Regions from separate parts of the Homo sapiens genome. Here region 1 is linked to region 2. The links are contacts of gene promoters, found by promoter capture Hi-C in blood cells and fetal thymus (Javierre and others, 2016). All regions are on one chromosome and are shown on one strand. Each heading gives the region's core, a stretch centred on a gene start or on the middle of the fragment in contact. The rest is flanking DNA. Distances are from core to core; before and after follow the strand shown.

What was found. The method cuts DNA at HindIII sites, captures the fragments that hold promoters and counts their contacts. A CHiCAGO score of 5 or more calls a contact.
Region 1: a contact is called between a fragment that was not itself captured here and the fragment with the promoter of DUSP21 in region 2, in 1 of 17 cell types (neutrophils). The highest score is 5.4, in neutrophils.

Annotation. Positions count from the first base shown.
Region 1 is chrX:45,047,274-45,050,772 of GRCh38, forward strand. The region is part of intron 8 of KDM6A (lysine demethylase 6A); the gene reads left to right. Among named protein-coding and RNA genes, the nearest start is that of DIPK2B, 150 kb to the right of the region's middle. The HindIII fragment of the contact is 5,227 bases long and covers 1-3,499 here.
Region 2 is chrX:44,842,206-44,845,526 of GRCh38, forward strand. DUSP21 (dual specificity phosphatase 21) reads left to right here and starts at 1,816. Exons shown (of 1, transcript NM_022076.4): 1 at 1,816-2,683. The coding sequence starts at 1,928. The coding sequence ends at 2,500. The HindIII fragment of the contact is 1,701 bases long and covers 308-2,008 here.

The DNA.
Region 1 (3,499 bases), core at 595-3,094, 210 kb after region 2:
AAATATTTTTTCTGCTCCACCGTTTTTCTCTTCTTCTCGGACTCCAATTACATGTATGGTAGACTATATGCTATTGCCTCAAACATCTTAGATGCTTTCTTTTTTTTTTTTTAACTTTTAACTTTTGTGTGTTTGTATGTGTGTGTTTCTGCTTCAATCTGTATGCTTTCTAGTGACTTGTTTTCAAATGCATTGATTTCTTTTTTTTTTTAAATATACTTTCCAATCTGCTATTCAATCCATATAGTGATTTTCTTTTTTAAATTTCAGATTAACATTTTTTCAATTCTGGAATTTCCTTTTGTTTCTCTTTCTGGAGTATGATTTTTTATACATTAATTCATTAGGATTATGTTTTTCTTTTGTCCACATTCTTCAAATATCTGCTTGCTTTTTTTTTCTTTTTTTTTTTTTTTTTTTTTTTTTTTTTGACAGGATCTGGCTCTCTTGCCCAGGCTGGAGTGCAATGGCATAATTTTGGCTCACCACAACCCCTGCCTCCCAGGTTCAAGCGATTCTCGTGCCTCAGCCTTCCAAGTAGCTGAGACTACAGGCGCGTGCCATCACACTCAGCCTGAATATCTGCTTTAAAATTATCTACAGGGCTAGGCGCAGTAGCTCATGCCTGTAATCCCAGCACTTGTGAGAGACCAAGGTGGGCAGATCACCTAAGGTCAGGAGTTCAAGACCAGCCTGGCCAAAATGGCGAGACCCCCATCTCTACTAAAAATACAAAAGATTAGCCAAGTGTGATGGCGTGCCTGTAATCCTAGCTGTTCGGGAGACTGAGGCAGGAGAATCGCTTGAACTCAGGAGGCAGAGGTTGCGGTGAGCCAAGATTGTGCCACTGCACTCCAGCCTGGGCGACACAGTGAAAGTGCGTCTCAAAAAAAAAAAAAAAAAAAAACTACAAATTTCAACATCTGAGTAATTTCACAGCTGGTTTTCATTAATTTTCTTTTCTTTTGAATATAGGTGAAATTTTCCTGATCTTCATAAGTTTAATAATTTTTATCCTGCATATCATGAGTAATACATTGTGGAGATTGACTATATTTTTCTGAAGATTGATATATTTTTGCTTTATTAGCCAGTTAACTCACACTCTAAACTTTGTCACCCTTGTAATGGCAGCAACTGAAATCTCTCTCTAGTTCTTTTAGGCTGCTCATTATCTGTTCTGTTCATGCATAATTCGGCAGTCAGAGCTTTGGGCAGAGTTTATGTGTGGAATTTGGTGTTTCCACTCTCTGTCTCCTGACTGGGATTTCTCCCCTCACTTCCAACTCTTTATGGTAGCCTCAAAAGCTGTCCTATGATTCTTCAGCCTAGTAAGACTGCCATTTCTATTTGAGTTCTAGCCAGCCAAAGTACCAGTTGAAGCCTGCCTTCAGGTGAAAATCCAAGAAAAAGGGAGTTACTCATCTAGTGCCGTTTCCTTCCTTTAAGTGTGAACTTTTCCTTTGGTTTTGCCTGATTTTGGTCTCTCTCCAGTGCCATCTGGTAGTTGACTTTTATATTTTATCCAGAATGTGAAGCTGTGTGTGGAATGTCACTCCAAATATTGTCAGAGGCAAAACTTCTACTCAACACTATTAAAGATAAACTCAAGTTACTTTTTTACACATCGTTTATAATTGCTAATTAATGTACTACTATAAGCATCCATTGTATTTTGCTTCTACTTGTCTAGTGACAGACACTTAGGTTGCCCCCCAACTTCTCCATACTACAAGCAGTACTGTTCAGAACATTACCTGTGGAAAGGTTTCCTTGGCATACATATTCCAAGAGTAAGATTGCTAGATTGTAGCATATTTGTATTCCTAATTTTTTGAGTAAATCCCCTTCCACCAGGACGTGAGTGTTCTCCTTTACTCACATCTCTACAATACTTGGAATTACTCAAATTTATGTTTGCCAGTCTTAAAGGTAGAAGCTGTTGTGTCATTTAAACTTGTATGTTCTGATTTCTAGAGGAGTATAGTTACTCACATTGTTTTTCACCTTTTATGTGTTGGATTACTTATGTCCATTGCCTGTTTCTCTGCCTATGCTTTTTGAGTCAGATCTTTACTCTTCCTTATGATTTGTGTTTTTTTGGTCATGTCCAATAAATTCTCTCCCATCTCAAGGAAACATTCTTCTACATTTTCTTCTCTTAACTTTATACTTTTACCTTTCATATTCAGGTCTTTAATGCAGTTGCTGGTTTTGTTGTATATGGTATGAGGTAGAAATCTAATTTCATATTTCCAAATATGATGCTACCATTTTTTCAAGTAGATCATTGTTTTTATTACAGTGTTGGGAGGTATATTTTAACATTTGTTAAGATAATTCATGAAGGTGGTTTTCCTAAAATTTAAATCTGATTACATTACTTGAAATCATTCAGTGGTTCTCCATTGTTTTAGGATACAGTCAGTAGTCTTTAAATGGATTAGGGAGGTCTTTGTGAAGTAGTCTTTGCATTTTCTGTCCAGCCTGCTAGTACTCTAAACTTAATATGCGCTCGTTCTTCCTCTGAGAAGTATTATAATGTTATCATACACAGCACAATATGCTTAATTTGTTTTTCTTGTATATATTTTTCACTACTGTGTAGTCTTAGCAGTTCCTGTTATGTATTAGGTGTTTAACAAATATTTATCAATTGAAGGAATTGAATAACTTGGCCCTTATCCTTGGCCTAACTATCTAATTAACTTTTTTTAGACCAGATGAGTGTTTTGGGGGAACTAGTTTAGCTGATAAGTAAAAGTTGATTTAATAACTCTGGATCGCTGGACGCGGTGGCTCACGCCTGTAATCCCAACACTTTGGGAAGCCAAGGCGGGCGGATCACCTGAGGTTGGGAATTCGAGACCAGCCTGACCAACATGGAGAAACCCCATTTCTACTAAAAATACAAAAGTAGGCGGGCGTGGTGGCACATGCCTATAATCCCAGCTACTCGGGAGGCTGAGGCAGGAGAATTCACTTGAACCCGGGAGGCGGAGGTTGCAGTGAACTGAGATCGTGCCATTGCACTCCAGCCTGGGCAACAAGGGCGACACTCCGTCTCAAAAAAACAAACAAACGAAAAAACTGATCATCTCAATAGACAGTTCTTTCAAATCTTCCTTATGTTAGCGGTGTGTGTGTGTGTAGCTCCTTAATTGTTTCCATCATTAGGACAACCCTGTAGGTAGCAAGATTGGATATTAGCTCTTGTTTTATTGCATCAGTTTTTTATTGATGTTGAATCCTAGTTTAAGTGAATTGCCTGAGGTTCATACAGCCTAGTTTTGTATTTCTACCTACTTTTTTTTGAAAATATTTGTTTGCTCAGGCAGTTATATACTGGTAATGATATGAATAAAAGCCACTTCAATCCATTGTTCTGCCAAGTATGTTTTACAGGTAATATTTATGAGCCTTTCTTTTGTTAGTTTTTTCCTTTTGTTTTGGGGGAGTTGTCTTAAGGTTTGTAACCATAGCAATAAAGAGTTTCAGT
Region 2 (3,321 bases), core at 566-3,065:
AAAAATTAGCTGGGCATGGTGGCGCGAGCCTGTAATCCCAGCTACTCATGAGACTGAGGCAGGAGAATGGCTTGAACCTGGGAGGCGGAGGTTGTGGTGAACCAAGATCGCGCCACTGCACTCCAGCCTGGGCAACAAGAGCAAAACTCCGTCTCAAAAAAAATAAAAATAAAAAAAAGAAAAGAAAATAGTGTCTGAAATTATTTTGTTAATTGTACTTAGTTTTAAAGTTTAAGAAGTGTATACTTATGAAATAAGTAGACTCCAATACTAGTTTAGGGCCTCCACATTACTACATAGATTACAAAGCTTCTCCGTTAGCCCAGCTGAGCTGCCCCCAACAAACAGTTTTCATATTTATTTAGTATTCGTGTTCTATTTTCTTCCAGATAGCTTTGTGGGGACTGACAATTTAAGTAATGCAAAATAATTTGATTATGACAACTGAGAAAAGAAACGTGTGTTGTGTTTTGAGGTTATCATTTCCTTGACCATCATAAGCAGCCTGGTATCTATTTCATCTTTGTTCGTAATCACAGCACACCTTTGAACACATACCAAAATGATGATGGAATGAGAGCAAAGTATGTGAGTCAATTGGCTACTCTGTGAAACAATTTGTTAGTTTTAGGCTATAGTTCTTTTCAATTTTCAGCCAAATTCTATAAAAATCTTAGCTGGAAGGAAATGCAAATGTCAGGTTACATTTTAGAAATTAATTTTTGGGCTGAGTGCTGTGGCTCGTGCATGTAATCCCAGCACTTTGGGAGGCCGAGGCCGGTGGATCACCTGAGGTCAGGAGTTTGAGACCAGCCTGGCCAACATGGTGAAATCCTGTCTCTACTAAAAATACAAGAATTCGCCAGGTGTGGTGGTGCGTTCCTGTAATCCCAGCTACTCGGTAGGCTAAGGCACAAGAATCACTTGAACCCAGGAAGCAGAGGCCTGGGACTCTCCAGCCTGGGTGACAGAGCAAAACTGTCTCAATTTTTGGCCCAATTACCATGTAGCATTAACTTGTTTCAGAATGTTTAATATTACTGGGAAGACAGCATCGGTAGTGGTCAAAGTGATTTGTAGTTCACAAAGCATGTAGGCATTTTTTTTTGAAGAAAGTAAACAAAATAATTTGAACTGTTGTTTCAGGTAATAAAATAGACTCATGCGGTAAGTCATTTGAGCTGTATGTACAAATGGACTATGACACAGCTAAATTAGTCACAACTGTCCACCACAGGCCAACTTCAAGATAAAGGGCTATATATCAGTTAGCAATGCTCTCTTACAACCAGCCCTGATGTGTTTGTAAGCAGGAAAATAATTTTATGGTTACAATCAACAAAGAAGTATCAGGCCAGTCCACCAAGCCCAGCCAAATCCCATATCTCGCTCCAGTTTTATAGAGATTAGCATATCACATGAGCCAAATGCTGTTCCCCAACTTAGAATGTGATATTGCTATTTTGCAGGGAAAGTGTAAGCCCTGTTCTGCAACACTGATGAAATAGAAGTATTCATAGATCTTGTTTAACGTGGTCCAATAATTGAAACATAAAATAGATATCTTGTAACAGAACATTTTTAAAAGTCAAGAAAGATAAGAATTAGGCCTTGGAAAATAAATGACTATGAAGAAAGATAAAAAGAAAAGAGACTGGGGTGTCTCTGAAGACCCTGCTTAGAGGCCCTGTCCTCCTTGCGGCAAGCGGCCATTGCCATGGAAACCGGAGCCGCAGGGCTATCTGTCCGGGATTGTGACGCCCAGATGGGAGTGGTGAGAGGAGACAGAAAGAGGGTGGTGGCCGATAGCTGGTCCTCTTTCTCCAACACCTAGCCTGAGACTTGGCGGCGCGGCTGCTATCCTGAACTAGCTTGGTAAGTGTTGTGTCCCGAACCAGCGTAGAGAGACCTCGGACCAGCCGCCTTGATGACAGCATCCGCGTCCTCCTTTTCATCATCTCAGGGTGTCCAGCAGCCCTCCATCTACAGCTTCTCCCAAATAACCAGAAGCTTGTTTCTCAGCAATGGTGTGGCCGCCAACGACAAACTCCTTCTGTCCAGCAATCGCATCACCGCCATTGTCAATGCCTCGGTGGAAGTGGTCAACGTATTCTTCGAGGGCATTCAGTACATAAAGGTGCCTGTTACCGATGCTCGTGACTCGCGTCTCTACGACTTTTTTGACCCCATTGCTGATCTTATCCACACCATCGATATGAGGCAGGGCCGTACGCTGCTGCACTGCATGGCTGGAGTGAGCCGTTCCGCCTCACTGTGCCTTGCGTACCTCATGAAATACCACTCCATGTCGCTGCTGGACGCCCATACATGGACCAAGTCGCGCCGCCCCATCATCCGGCCCAACAACGGCTTTTGGGAACAGCTCATCAATTACGAATTCAAGCTGTTTAATAACAACACCGTGCGCATGATCAACTCGCCGGTAGGTAACATCCCTGACATCTATGAGAAGGACCTACGTATGATGATATCAATGTAAGCCATCCCGGCCAGCCCCTGACATCTGCCATCGATCTTGCACCAAGACTGAACTTGAACACTGACATTTTGTTAGTAAAGAAAACCGGATGGTGCCTTGTTAAAGGGCAAGAAAAAAGGGAGGGGGTTGGAGTTTTGAACGTAGTAAGCCTTACCTTAATAGAATTAAATTCATGAAACATAAGATAGTGAAAATATTTTTTATATTGTGAGGTCAAGCTATTGGGGCCTGGCTGGAACCAGGGTGGGGCAAGTAATGCTCAGCTCACATAGACCTGCCAGCAGCACCCAATACATGTGGCAGACCTGGAATCCTGAGCCCTGCCAGAGGCTGACTAACCCAGGAGTGAATCCCCTAGAATCTCACCCGGTTCTTTCCAACCCAAAGTCAAAGCCTTAGACATCTTGGCATCCCTTGCACTTCTCCCAGTAAGTGCCAACCTAGTGGATAAGTGGCTTTCATTCAAGCTGTGCTCCAGGAGCTCTGGAGGAGTCTCAGGCTACCCTTGCCCACCTTCAATCACAGTGGCCCATCTCTGGTTTTCTAGATCGGATTTATACATTAGTTAAAAAAAAAAAAACTAGTTTTTTAAAAGACCATTCCACTCCATAAAGTTTAAAAATATTGTATTTTTTTGACTGCTGTACTTGATGGCAAGTTCTCAAGGTGTCTTTGGTGATCTCCCACCGGCCTTTGTGAAAAGGGACATAGTCCTTTTCCCAGGGCATATACTGAGAGAGAACAGGCCTGACACCAGGCCTCAGGGGTTCCTCTCATGAGCCTTGGCTTAAGAGGCTGGAGCTGCTGGCCATGACCCAGCC